3 separate regions of the Homo sapiens genome follow, and regions 2 and 3 are each linked to region 1. The links are contacts of gene promoters, found by promoter capture Hi-C in blood cells and fetal thymus (Javierre and others, 2016). All regions are on one chromosome and are shown on one strand. Each heading gives the region's core, a stretch centred on a gene start or on the middle of the fragment in contact. The rest is flanking DNA. Distances are from core to core; before and after follow the strand shown.

Region 1 (3,858 bases), core at 1,314-3,813:
TTTAAGCTACAGCTCAATACTTCCCTTCTAAGAAGTTACAAGAAAACATGACAGCAATGTCTTATCTACAAATAGTTTTGCCGCCCTAGAACATGGCTCTTCAGGGCTTCCTGCTGCCCATTCTCAGATACCATCACACTGATGCCATAAATTATGATGATATTTAGAGAAGATATTTGCATTCAGTTCCTAACAGGTTTGGTTTCAAAGGAGTTAACTGATACTTTAGTCATATTTGCATGCTTCTTCCTAGCACTGATTTCTAATTAATCACCAAATCTGGTCATTTTTCCTTCCCAACATCTCCTCCCCTTGCGCTTTCCCCCTCCCGCTGACCCCAAGCCTGGCTTGGGCCCTTACCTGTCTGTCCACTGCGGACTCTCCCTAACTTCTGTCTCCAGCCCTCTTCAATCCACTAAGTTGCCTTCATAGTACTCTCCCATGGCAGCTTAATAAAACCAGCCACAACTCTCCCTTATTTAGCGAAGCAAATTTCACAGTCCTTGGGCTAATATTCAAGATTACAAGAAATACAATCTGATTTCAAACTACTCTTGTACTCAAGAAATACAATCTGATTTAAAATCACTCTTCAGAAAATTACATACGCTTTTGGTCACAGCATTCGCTACTTCATTTACCCTTTCCCACCTAGAAAGTCAAGGAATTCCGAACTTCCTTCTAATTCCTAACTTGATTTCTAACAGTAACAACCCAAACTCCTAAGAATATGCTTCTACACTAACCCAAACTCTAAGAATATACTTCTACACTATTTTTACATTTATTAATTTTGGCTGTATCTTCTGACTTACTGCTATGATGAACATCAGTTCATTTACTTCTGCTCTTCTAATATATTTATAATCACATTTTTTCACGCCTCTGTTGGTAAGCATAACTTTAAGTAACAGACCCACACCTCTATCTCTCACTCCATCACCATAGCCATTCCCTTTTGACTTTGGGTCCCTGACCTTTCCTTCCACTCCTCTCATAATCCCTATTTTTCAGACCTGCAATACACACCACCTTCAGTCAAACTGTCCCCCGGAACATCTTTTGTCCTCCACCATGCTATCCTCCATACTGTTGAGTTCACTTTTCCAAATTGCATTCCTCTACGATCCAGTCCAAACTCCTCTGAGAAGGGGAAGACTCAATACAAAATGGTAACTCCCTCCCTGAATTCCTGGAGCATATATTAGTTGTTCCATTAATCTAACCACCAATTATGTATGTTGCGATTTTTTTCTGGCAGTTGTATTTAACTTTTCATTTGTGTAAGGCAGAAAGTTGTTTTCCTAACAAGACTCTAAGACCCCTGTCTCAGCATTTCCAAATCTACTTAGTAGAGTGCAGTGACTTGCATATATTGGATACTCTGTAACCGTGTTTACTGATGAATGCTAATATGAAAGCCTCTTCATATGAACCTCAAAAAGCTGAAAGTCAACTACTCTCTTAGTTTCCCAGCCTGGAAGATCAGATTACTTCATAAAAGTCACACAGGCCTGGATTACAGACCAATGAAACATCCAAAGGAAGGATACTTCTAAGTAAACATACAAACTTTACTGGGGAAGCCGCCTGATTAAAACCTTCCCCGGCAGAATCATGTCCAAAGTGAAGTACAAGGTCTGCTTAAACAGCTTATTAAAAGAAAAAAAAAACAGCGAAAAAAGCGCATCCCTATTGAAAAGATATTTTACTAGCTCCCGTGTCTTAACTTCTTAACTAAGAAACGAAAAGAGCCATACATCAGGTTGAAGTATCTGGGATTCCCGGACGAGGTGGAGGGCAGCGGAGGAAAAACACCGAGAGGCTGCGCTGCAAGGGACGCAGGGAAAAGCAAGCCTGGGGCAGGTCTGAGTTCCGAGTTCCCGACTGCTCCCTCGTGGTGTCTGCGACCCGGTAGCGGGAGCAAGTGAGGTTGTTGGACTGCAGTTTTCCCCCTACAGTGGCGATGCGGGGCCGGGGTCGCGGGTATGAGGAGATGGGGTGTGAGCCGGGGTGCGCCAGGGCAGAGCGCTTCGCCCACCGAGACGGGCAGGGCGGCTCCGGGCACTGGCCGGGCGGGGCAAGGAGCTCCTAGGCCGCCAGGTCCCTCTCTGCTGGCTCCGCGGAGTCCGCCCGGGGGAAGGGAAGGTCGGGGAGGGCCGGGCTTCTCCGAGTGGCCGCGGGGGCTGCGGGACAGGTACTTACCCGGGTGCCATTTCAGGGCCAGCTTCCGATAGGCCTTCTTGAGCTCCTCCTCGCTGGCGTCGCGCCGCACCCCCAGCGCCTCATAGTGACACTTCATCGCCCGACCGGGCGGGCGGCCGGCGCTGGGGCCCGGGACGGGGTCGGGGCCCGGGCCCGGGCCGAAGCGGCGGCGGCGGCGGCGCTGGCAGTCCTCTCCGGCGGGAGTCCGCCGCCCGCACCGGGCCAGCCAGCGAGCCCGGCGGCGGCGGCGGCGGCGGCGGTGGTGTAGGTCAGTGAAGGCGCGCGGTGGCGGCAGACGACGCAGGCTGCGGCAAGCGGGAGCGCGGCGGGGGCGGTGCCGGCGGCCGCCGCTTCGCATGGGCTAGGGGTGGGCTCTGTGCCGGAAAGGGCCGCGCGGGAGGGGGTGGGGCCTCGGCGGGGTGAGAGGCGAGGCCCCGAGGAAGGAAGGCGGGGCCTTGGCGAGGAGAGAGGCGGGCCGCGCAGGAGAAAGGCGGGAGCTTGGCGGGGAAAGAGGCGGGCCGCGTGGGAGGAAGGTAGGCCTTGGCCGGGAAGAACAGGAGGAAGGCGGGACCTTGGTGTGAGAGGCGGGGCCTCGGCGGGGCGAGAGGCGGGGCCGCGCGGAAGGGAGGCAGGGCCACGCTGGTGTCATTGTGAGGGGCACAGATGGCGGTCAGTGTGAGTGGCAGCCGACCTGAGGGCTGAAGGGGGAGATAGGAGCTGGGATGGGAGAGGATTCTGGAAAATATCTGATTATAATTTCTCAATGGATCCCCGTTTTTATAGATAAGGCGATTCAGACTCCAAGTGGTCAAGTGGTTGGCTCAAGCCTCCTCAGCTAATACAGTAGCAGAATTCGGTTGGACTGAATATCAGGTTTTTTTTTTAATCTCTTTAATTCTCTTCAGCTGCCACTTAAGATATCTGGTATTGATCATCTTGACCAATATGCTTGAGAAAGGACAGTTAGATTATTTAAGCGGAAACAATTTAAAAGGGAAGCATCAACACACTTAATGAAAAGCCTTACCACCAACATGGATGAAATTGTGCTGATCTATCCATCCAACACACTTTAATCCTAACTTTCTGGCCTCTAATCCTACCTTTCCAAGATTGGTTTAGGTTAAGAAAGCAGTTAAAGGATAGTATTTAACTGGTAGGTTTTGGTTGATCTGACTATCTGCACAATTATTCCAAACACTTTGAAAGGTATCAAAATAATACCATAATTATTAAAATGCATTAATACACCAATATATTTCACTGTAATGTGGAATGTTTACATGCATCAGTTAGGTGTGGGTTGTATTTACTAACCATGTATGGTTAGCTATGTTGCTAATATCTATTGCACAGGGTTGGCGTACCCAAGCGGTTTAGTAAGGTTATCCTTCTCTTCCCCAATATGCTGCCCCCAGTAAAATAAAAAACCCACGCTAAGCTTCATCAGGTTACTTCACACGCCACTGACCAACCAACTCACTACTCAGAATTCATACACTTCCCTTTTTTCCAGAGGAAGATTCTACACAGTCTCAGTTAGTTGGTAAATTGGTAATGGATAAGGATTGAGAAGTCTGAGTTTGGGGGAGAATGAAACCTTTCCCCTCCTGAGAACAGAATTGGGATGGTGGGCGGGGGGAAGGGAGGGAC
Region 2 (3,828 bases), core at 202-2,701, 2.3 Mb after region 1:
ACTGTGAAGATCCCTTCTTTCTTGGATTTTTTTGCTAGTTGATGATTTTAACAGTTGTTTCTGGTCACTGCCATGACTGTTTTTAGAGGCCTCATAGGGCAAGAAAGACCAAACACATTAAAAATAACCAAGTGAAGTTCTTTTGCACAAAGTTTGAAGACATTCATCTTTGACTTTAATCTACAGAACTAGGTAACAGAGGTTTTTAATCCTAATCCGTAATAGTTGTCTCTGCTAATCTTATTTGTCCATTATTAGTCAAGCTCCCAACCTGAAAAGACACACTCGAATTATGCCAATTCAAGGAGTAAAATTTATTAAAATATATTATTTACAAAGGTGTGAGTGAAGGCTTAGGAAAACAAAAGGGTAACCAGTAGTAACAGAGGAACTAAACATCCCACAGTTGAAAGTTGTAGGGACCGAGTAGCTGCTGGAACCCATAAGAAACTCACATAGAGGAAGTCACCTTGAGAGGAGTTTTTAAGAAACACAGCCAACCTAAGGTGACCCTACCCCACCAAACTCTCCTTTCACCATGAACCAAACCCAACCAAACATCCCAGCCTCCCAGGACAGAGCGCAGGGTAAGACTGGATCTAGGGGAATAGATGGAATATCTAGGGGAACAGATAAAATATATACATATATGGCACCATCCGAGCCTTTTGCCTTCAGCATCATCTCTTGTCCTTCACCTGGTGGAAAGATTGAGTTCCCAATACGGGGCAGGATCAATGTTCCACCAACTACTACTTCAATACAAGTTGTTCTCATACTCCACAGCCTAAAACTTTAGCCAGCATTGGTGTTATTCATTTAACTTATTTCAGAGAAAAGAGAGGAGAAACACTTAAATGACATAAAACACTGTTGTGACAATCCTGACTTCTGTGAGGTCTGTATTGGTCATCTTAGCTGCCTTTGCCCTCTGCCCATTCCGAGTTCCAGTTAGCCTCCTCCAGCACCTTTGCTGGGCCAGGGTTCTTTACCAGATGAAAAGTACAAAACCTTCATTCTTACAGTGAGTCTTTGGAGGTCTTCTATTTACGGGTTGAAGTTTTTCCTTCAAGACAACTGGTTAAGGGAGCACAGTCACCAGTAAACCCCCTGGTTTCCAAACATCACTCTCCTTGCCACCACTGTGTAGGAACAAACAGTCCAATTTCCCTCAGACAATCAAGATCAATGAACTCAAACACCACAATCACCTCCTTATTTCCCTACTAATTCAATGGCATGAGAAGCCCAAGATGACCAAAAGGCAGTCTCCACTACCAACGCACTGGAACCATCACTCCCTTCCATGCTAGGCTCCCAAAACTTACATGCTTTTCAAAGAATGAAATAGACTGAATGCTCCTTGAGAGTAAAAAATTTTTATTTGTGGCCGGGGGCACAGTAGCTCACGCCTGTAATCCCAGCACTTCGGCAGGCCGAGGCAGGTGGATCACTTGAGGCCAGGAGTTCAAGACCAGCCTGGTCAACATGGCAAAACCCCATCTCTACTAAAAATGCCAAAATTTAGCCAAGCATGGTAGTGCACGCCTGTCATCCCAGCTACTCGGGAGGCTGAGGCACATGAATCACTTGAACCCAGGAGGCAGACGGTACAGTTAGCCGAGATCACAATACTGCACTTCAGCCTGGGTGACAGAGTGAAACTCTGTCTCACAAAATAATGATAATAAATAAAATAAAATAGAACGGGCAAGGCCGGGCACGGTGGCTCACACCTGTAATCCCAGCACTTTGGGAGGCCGAGGTGGGCGGATCACGAGGTCAGGAGATCAAGACCATCCTGGCTAACATGGTGAAACCCCGTCTCTACTAAAAATACAAAAAAAGTAGCCGGGTGTGGTGGTGGGCGCCTGTAGTCCCAGCTACTCAGGAGGCTGAGGCAGGAGAATGGCGTGAACCCAGGAGGCGGAGCTTGCAGTGAGCCGAGATCGCACCACCGCACTCCAGCCTGGGAGACAGAGCAAGACTCTGTCTCAAAAAAAAAAAAAAAAAAAAAAAAAAGAACGGGCAATCACCATTTTAAATAACTTAGTGATCAAAATTCACATGACCAGTTGTGAAACAACCTGGCCTGATGTACCTTCTGGTGTGGTGCGGTAGGTACAGCATCTCCTATGTAGCATTCTTGCAAAAGACATTTAACCTGAACTGAGCCATGAGGAAACAGACAAATCTAGAATATGGGACATACTACAAGTGGCCTGGACTCTTACAAAAGGTCAATGTCGTGGAAAACAAAATAGTAGGGAATAATTCTAGATTAAAAGAGACTGATAACCAAATGAACAGCATGAATTTTCATCAAGACACTGCATTGGGAGAAGAAATGAACATTTTTGGGAACTGGGGAAACTTACTACGGACTGAATAGTTGATAAAATTATTGATGTTTTAAGTTGTGATAATATTGAGGCTAGGTAGAAGAATGTCTTTACTCTTGGGAAATGCACATTGAGGTTCCAAGGCAGTCTCAAGGAAAAGCACCGGCAGAACTGTTTGGAGTGTGAACTGAACTAGCGGCACTTTGCACGGAGCACCATTTTAACTTCCAAGATTGACAAATTGTCGTTGTTCAGACCTGTGGATTTGGCAGACAATTTCTCAGAAACAAACAAACTGAGCCTATCACTTCAAAAAAAAACAACTGACAGCATGTGTTGTCAATGATGAAATTCAAGTTTTCAAGGGGAAATTACATACTACAACTTTTAAGAAACTACCACTTGTCAAATTTTGTGGTTGTTATCAAAGGATACCCACAATTACCTGGAAAGGCTATTAAAGTATTCCTGTGCCAGGCACAGTGGCTCATGCCTGTAATCCCAGCACTTTGAGTGGCTGAGGCAGGCAGATCACTTAAGCTCAGGAATTCGAGATCAGTCTAGCCAACATGGTGAAACCCTGTCTCTACTAAAAATACAAAAATTAGCCGGGCATGGTGCCATACGCCTGTAATCTCACCTACTTTGCAGGCTGAGGTATGAGAATCGCTTGAACCCGGGAGGTGGAGGTTGCAGTGAGCCCAGATGGTGCCTGGGCAACAAAAGCGAAACTGTCTCAGAAAAAAAAAATAATAAAGTATTCCTCCCTTTTCCAACTACACATCTCTGTGAGGCCACATTTTCTTCACATACCTCAACCCAAACAAAAGATTATCTGCAGAAGCAAACAGGAGAATCCAGCCATGTTCTATTAAAGAGATTGGTAAAATGTAAAATAATGTCACTCATAATTTTGTTTTGCAAAATATGATTATTTTCCATTAAAAAAATGTTAAAGTATCTTTCCATTCCTAGGAAATACATATTGAAGTACTTAAAATGAAATATGCCTGCAGTTTACTTTCAAATATTCATCCAAAAAATTGTATAGATGTATACACATGTATGTATGTGTGTAAACATGTATGCCTAAGTGGCATCAGAGATACTTGGTCTTTGTCCCTGGTTCCTGGCACAGAGCTCCTAAAACCTAATTTCTTGAGTTAAAAGTGATAGTAGGATCTTTTGTTCAAATGAGGGACTCTTGGCAGGGCCCCTAGACAGCTTCAGGATGGGGACTGGTTGCTAGAAAGATGAAACTTTGATTAGAAGCTTAGAATTTTCAGCTCCACCTCCCAACCTCTGGGGATGGGTGAGGAAGTGAGGACTGTTAATCACCAATGGCTAAAAATTTAATCAATCACGTGTAATGGAATCTCTATAAAAACACCCTAAATGATGGGGCTCAGAGACTTAAGTTGGTGACATAGTAAGGTGCTGGGAGAGTGGTGCTCCCAGAGAAGGCACAGAGCTCCATCTCCCTTCC
Region 3 (3,825 bases), core at 175-2,674, 2.3 Mb after region 1:
GGTCTGGAAGAAGAGGGTGGCACAAAAAGGAATGTGCTGAATTTGGAGAATCTGTAGGTGTCCCAGAAAGGGAGGTAGACTGGGAAGTAGGGCTGAGAAGGGAAATAGCTCACAAACTATGAAAGGGACAGAGCTTGAGGAGGAGACTGCCAGGAAGAAGTTCCTGGAGGCCTGGAGTATGGCACGGGACTGTTAATGCGGTTCCCTCCAAGGCCTTATGCTGTCGACACCCTCCGTTACTCACTTCTTTCAAAGCTTCCGAAAAAGGCTTATTCAAGTATCAGGATATTATTTTGAAATCTTACCCAATGTGGCTTTTGTTACTAGCACTTCCTGCTTTCTGACCTTCACTCTTTCCCCATCCCCCGTTTTCTCAGCTACAGCATTTGACTAGAAGAAGGATGTTAGACCAGAACACACAGACCAGATTCTTGGCTTTTGACTTTTTTAAACTATTAGGATTCCAGGCATAAATTACAGATTTAAGGTAATGTGCTATTAAAGTTTTTTTCTGGCTGGGTGCTGTGGATCCTGCCTGTAATCCCAGCAATTTGGGAGGCCGAGGTGGGTGGATCACTGGAGCCCAGGAGTTGCAGACCAGCCTGGACAACATAGTGAGACCCTGTCTCTACAAAAAATACAAAAAAATGGGCCAGGCACAGCGGCTCACGCCTGTAATCCCAGCACTTTGGGAGGTCCAGGTGGGTGGATCACGAGGTCAGGAGATCGAGACCATCCTGGCCAACATGGTGAAACCCCGTCTCTACTAAAAATACAAAAATTAGCTGGGCGTGATGGTGCGTGCCTGTAGTCCCAGCTACTCAGGAGGCTGAGGCAGGAGAATCGCTTGAACCCAGGAGGCAGAGGTTGCAGTGAGTCAAGATCATGCCACCGCACTCCAGCCTGGTGACAGAGACAGACTCCATCTCAAAAAAAAAAAAAGAAAAAGAAAAAGAAAAAGAAAAAAATCAGCTGGGTGTAGTGGTAAGTTCCTGTAGTCTCAGCTACTCAGGAGGCTGAGGCAGGAGGATTGCTTGAGCCTGAGAGGTCGAGGCTGCAGTGAGCCATGAGTGCGCCACTGCATTCATTCCAGCCTGGGTGACAGCCTGGGTGTTTTTGAGACCCTGTCTCAAAAACAAACAAACAAAAATAGTTCCTTTTAGCCCACCCCACTCGCCTGTAGAGATTATTGCAACTGTGAAAGGGAGGAGTCAGAAGAGAAAGGAGATGAGGCCCCTCTTCAGTGTCTAAGGAGTAGAGAAGTAGTTCTGCTGTCTGTCCCCACACCAGCCCTGGGGAAGGAAGGAAGCATCAAATTCCCAGAGGGCTTAGGGATCTGAGAGAGCAAAGCAAACTGGTGCCTTGCTTTCCAGGCAGCCGAGCTCTCCGAGCTCCTCTGCAACCCAAGCGCCCCTCCCTCCACCACAGAGTTGGGGTAGAGATATCTGTGTGGTGTGTCAGGATGGCCGACCTCAGGCTTCCTCACCGAGTTCAGAGATGCCCCAGGGTACTGCAGCATTCAGGGGAATGTCTTTCTCTTTGGCCAAGAGTGGCACAGATGTGTCAGTGACAGCCAGCAGACCTGGGGAGGACTTGCAGTGAGGAAGAGGAAATCTCACCACCCTCAACTTGCATAGAGTGCTGTAACAAAGGACATCTCAACAAATACCAGTGTGAAGAAGTGAGAAGGATCAAGAATCAGACAAGATGAACTGTTAAGCAAAGGCCAATGATACGGTCTCCATCTGTGTCCCTGCCCAAATCTCATGTTGAGTTGTAATCCCCAATGTTGGAGGAGGGGGCTGGTGGGAAGTGATTGGATCCTGGGGGCAGATCTCCCTCTTGCTGTTCTCGTAATAGTGAGTGAATTCTCACGAGATCTGGTTGTTTAGAAGTGTGTAGCACCGGCCGGGCACAGTGGCTCATGCCTGTAATCCCAACACTTTGGGAGGCTAAGGAGGGTGGATCACGAGGTCAGGAGATCGAGACCATTCTTGCCAACATGGTGAAACCCTGTCTCTACTAAAACTACAAAAATTAGCTGGGAATGGTGGCACATGCCTGTAATCCCAGCTACTTGGGAGGCTGAGGCAGGAGAATCACTTGAACCAGGGAGTCGGAGGTTGCAGTGAGCCGAGATCATGCCACTGCACTCCAGCCTGGCGACAGAGCGAGACTCCATCTAAAAAACAAAACAAACGAAAAAAAAAAACAGTGTGTAGCTCCTCCCCCTTGTCTCTCTTCCTCCTGCTCCAGCAACGTAGGATGTGCCTGCTTCCCCTTCTCCTTCAACCATGATTGTAAGTTTCCTGAGGCCTCTCCAGCCATGCTTCCTGCACAGCCTGTGGAACCATGAACTAATTAAACCTCTTTTCTTTATAAGTTGCCCAGTCTCAGGTAAATCTTTATAGCAATGCGAGAACAGACTAATGCGGCTGTCATGGACAGATGGGGAAAATGGGCCAGACTCTACCACTACCCTTAGTGCTCTGACACCATGTAATCCTACCCCACCTCTGTCCAGAATTTAGGAGAGAAAGGGGGAAAGGGAGAAATTATGAGTTTGACCTGAAATTGGCCACAATTAAGCTTTTACCACTAGGTGAAATGGTGATCATTAAACACAATCATAAGAAAATGAAGAAAGTCACATTTCCTGAGAGCCTGAGTTTGTAGCACAAGAGACATACCAGTAATATACAAAGAAGAGGAAACAAGAAAGAAAGGGAGAGGAACAGGCTTATGTGCCAGGGATGTGGTGGGCACCTAGGGAGGTCAGCCGCCTCTGGTTTAACCTCCAGGCTAAAGCAGGAAAGCAGATCACAGCGTGAATGACTAGGAGAACATAACTCCTTCCAGGTTATTTTGGGAAAACTTAAGAATTCTGGAGGTCCCACGGCACATGGAATGGTAGCACCAACCATTCAATTTGGATATTAAAAGATATGGTGGCTCTGGATGTCTAGAGGTTTTAGGAACACCTAGGATGGGGCCATGTGGATCATACATGCAAAAGAGAAAACAAATAAAACAAAAACCTGGGCATCCTCCAGTTTAGTGAGTCTGAAGAACTGGGAAGGGAGACAGTACAAGGTAAGAGGGTTGTTATGGATTGAATGCTTGTGTTTTCCCCCAGATTCATATGTTGAACCCTTAATCCCAGTGGGATGGTATTATAGGTGGGGACTTTGGGGCATACTTAGTCATAAGGGTGGAACCCTCATAAATAGATTCATGCTGTTATGAGAAGAGACAAGAGAGAGCTTAATTATTCTGTCTCTGTTCTCTGCCATGTAAAGATACAACAAGAAGGCAGTCATCTGCAAACCAGAAAGTGGGCCCTCACCAGATATGCAGGCACCTTGATCTTGGACTTCTCAGCCTCCACAATTGAATAAAATAAGTGTTGTTTAAGCCACCCAGTCTATGTTATTTCTATTACAGCAGACTAAGACGGGGCAATATACACTCTCCCCAAGAGGAGACACAGGGAGCACCTACTCTTTGTAGGGTGTGAGTTATATCCATCAGATGCAGTGATGTGAGAAAAAGTTAAGGCATAAAAAGCCTTGTGGGTGGGGCTCGGTGGCTCACACCTGTAATCCCAGCACTTTGGGAGGCTGAGGCAGGTGGATCACTTGAGGCCAGGAGTTCAAGACCAGCCTGGCCAACACGGCAAAACCCCATCTCTACTAAAAAATACAAAAATTAGCTGGGTGTGGTGGCACATGCCTGTAATCCCAGCTATCTGGGAGGCTGAGGCAGGAGAATCCCCTGAACCTCAGAGGGTGAAGTTGCTGTGAGCTGAGAGAGGGTGAAGTTGCT

Evidence for each region. The method cuts DNA at HindIII sites, captures the fragments that hold promoters and counts their contacts. A CHiCAGO score of 5 or more calls a contact.
Region 2: a contact is called between a fragment that was not itself captured here and the fragment with the promoter of DNAJC21 in region 1, in 1 of 17 cell types (naive B cells). The highest score is 5.9, in naive B cells.
Region 3: a contact is called between a fragment that was not itself captured here and the fragment with the promoter of DNAJC21 in region 1, in 4 of 17 cell types (neutrophils, naive CD4 T cells, naive B cells and 1 more). The highest score is 16.6, in neutrophils.

Annotation. Positions count from the first base shown.
Region 1 is chr5:34,928,264-34,932,121 of GRCh38, reverse strand. It overlaps DNAJC21 (DnaJ heat shock protein family (Hsp40) member C21), which reads right to left and starts at 2,563. Exons shown (of 12, transcript NM_001012339.3): 1 at 2,206-2,563. The coding sequence starts at 2,302. LOC124900961 (a long non-coding RNA gene) reads left to right here and starts at 2,441. Exons shown (of 2, transcript XR_007058731.1): 1 at 2,441-2,473; 2 at 2,989-3,858. RefSeq lists enhancers at 1,798-1,967, 1,434-2,079 and silencers at 2,108-2,307, 2,338-2,407, 2,418-2,887. The HindIII fragment of the contact is 5,598 bases long and covers 1-3,648 here.
Region 2 is chr5:32,608,045-32,611,872 of GRCh38, reverse strand. No RefSeq gene overlaps it. Among named protein-coding and RNA genes, the nearest start is that of SUB1, 24 kb to the right of the region's middle. The HindIII fragment of the contact is 4,330 bases long and covers 1-3,616 here.
Region 3 is chr5:32,579,225-32,583,049 of GRCh38, reverse strand. No RefSeq gene overlaps it. Among named protein-coding and RNA genes, the nearest start is that of SUB1, 4.4 kb to the left of the region's middle. RefSeq lists an enhancer at 1,023-1,082. The HindIII fragment of the contact is 2,334 bases long and covers 258-2,591 here.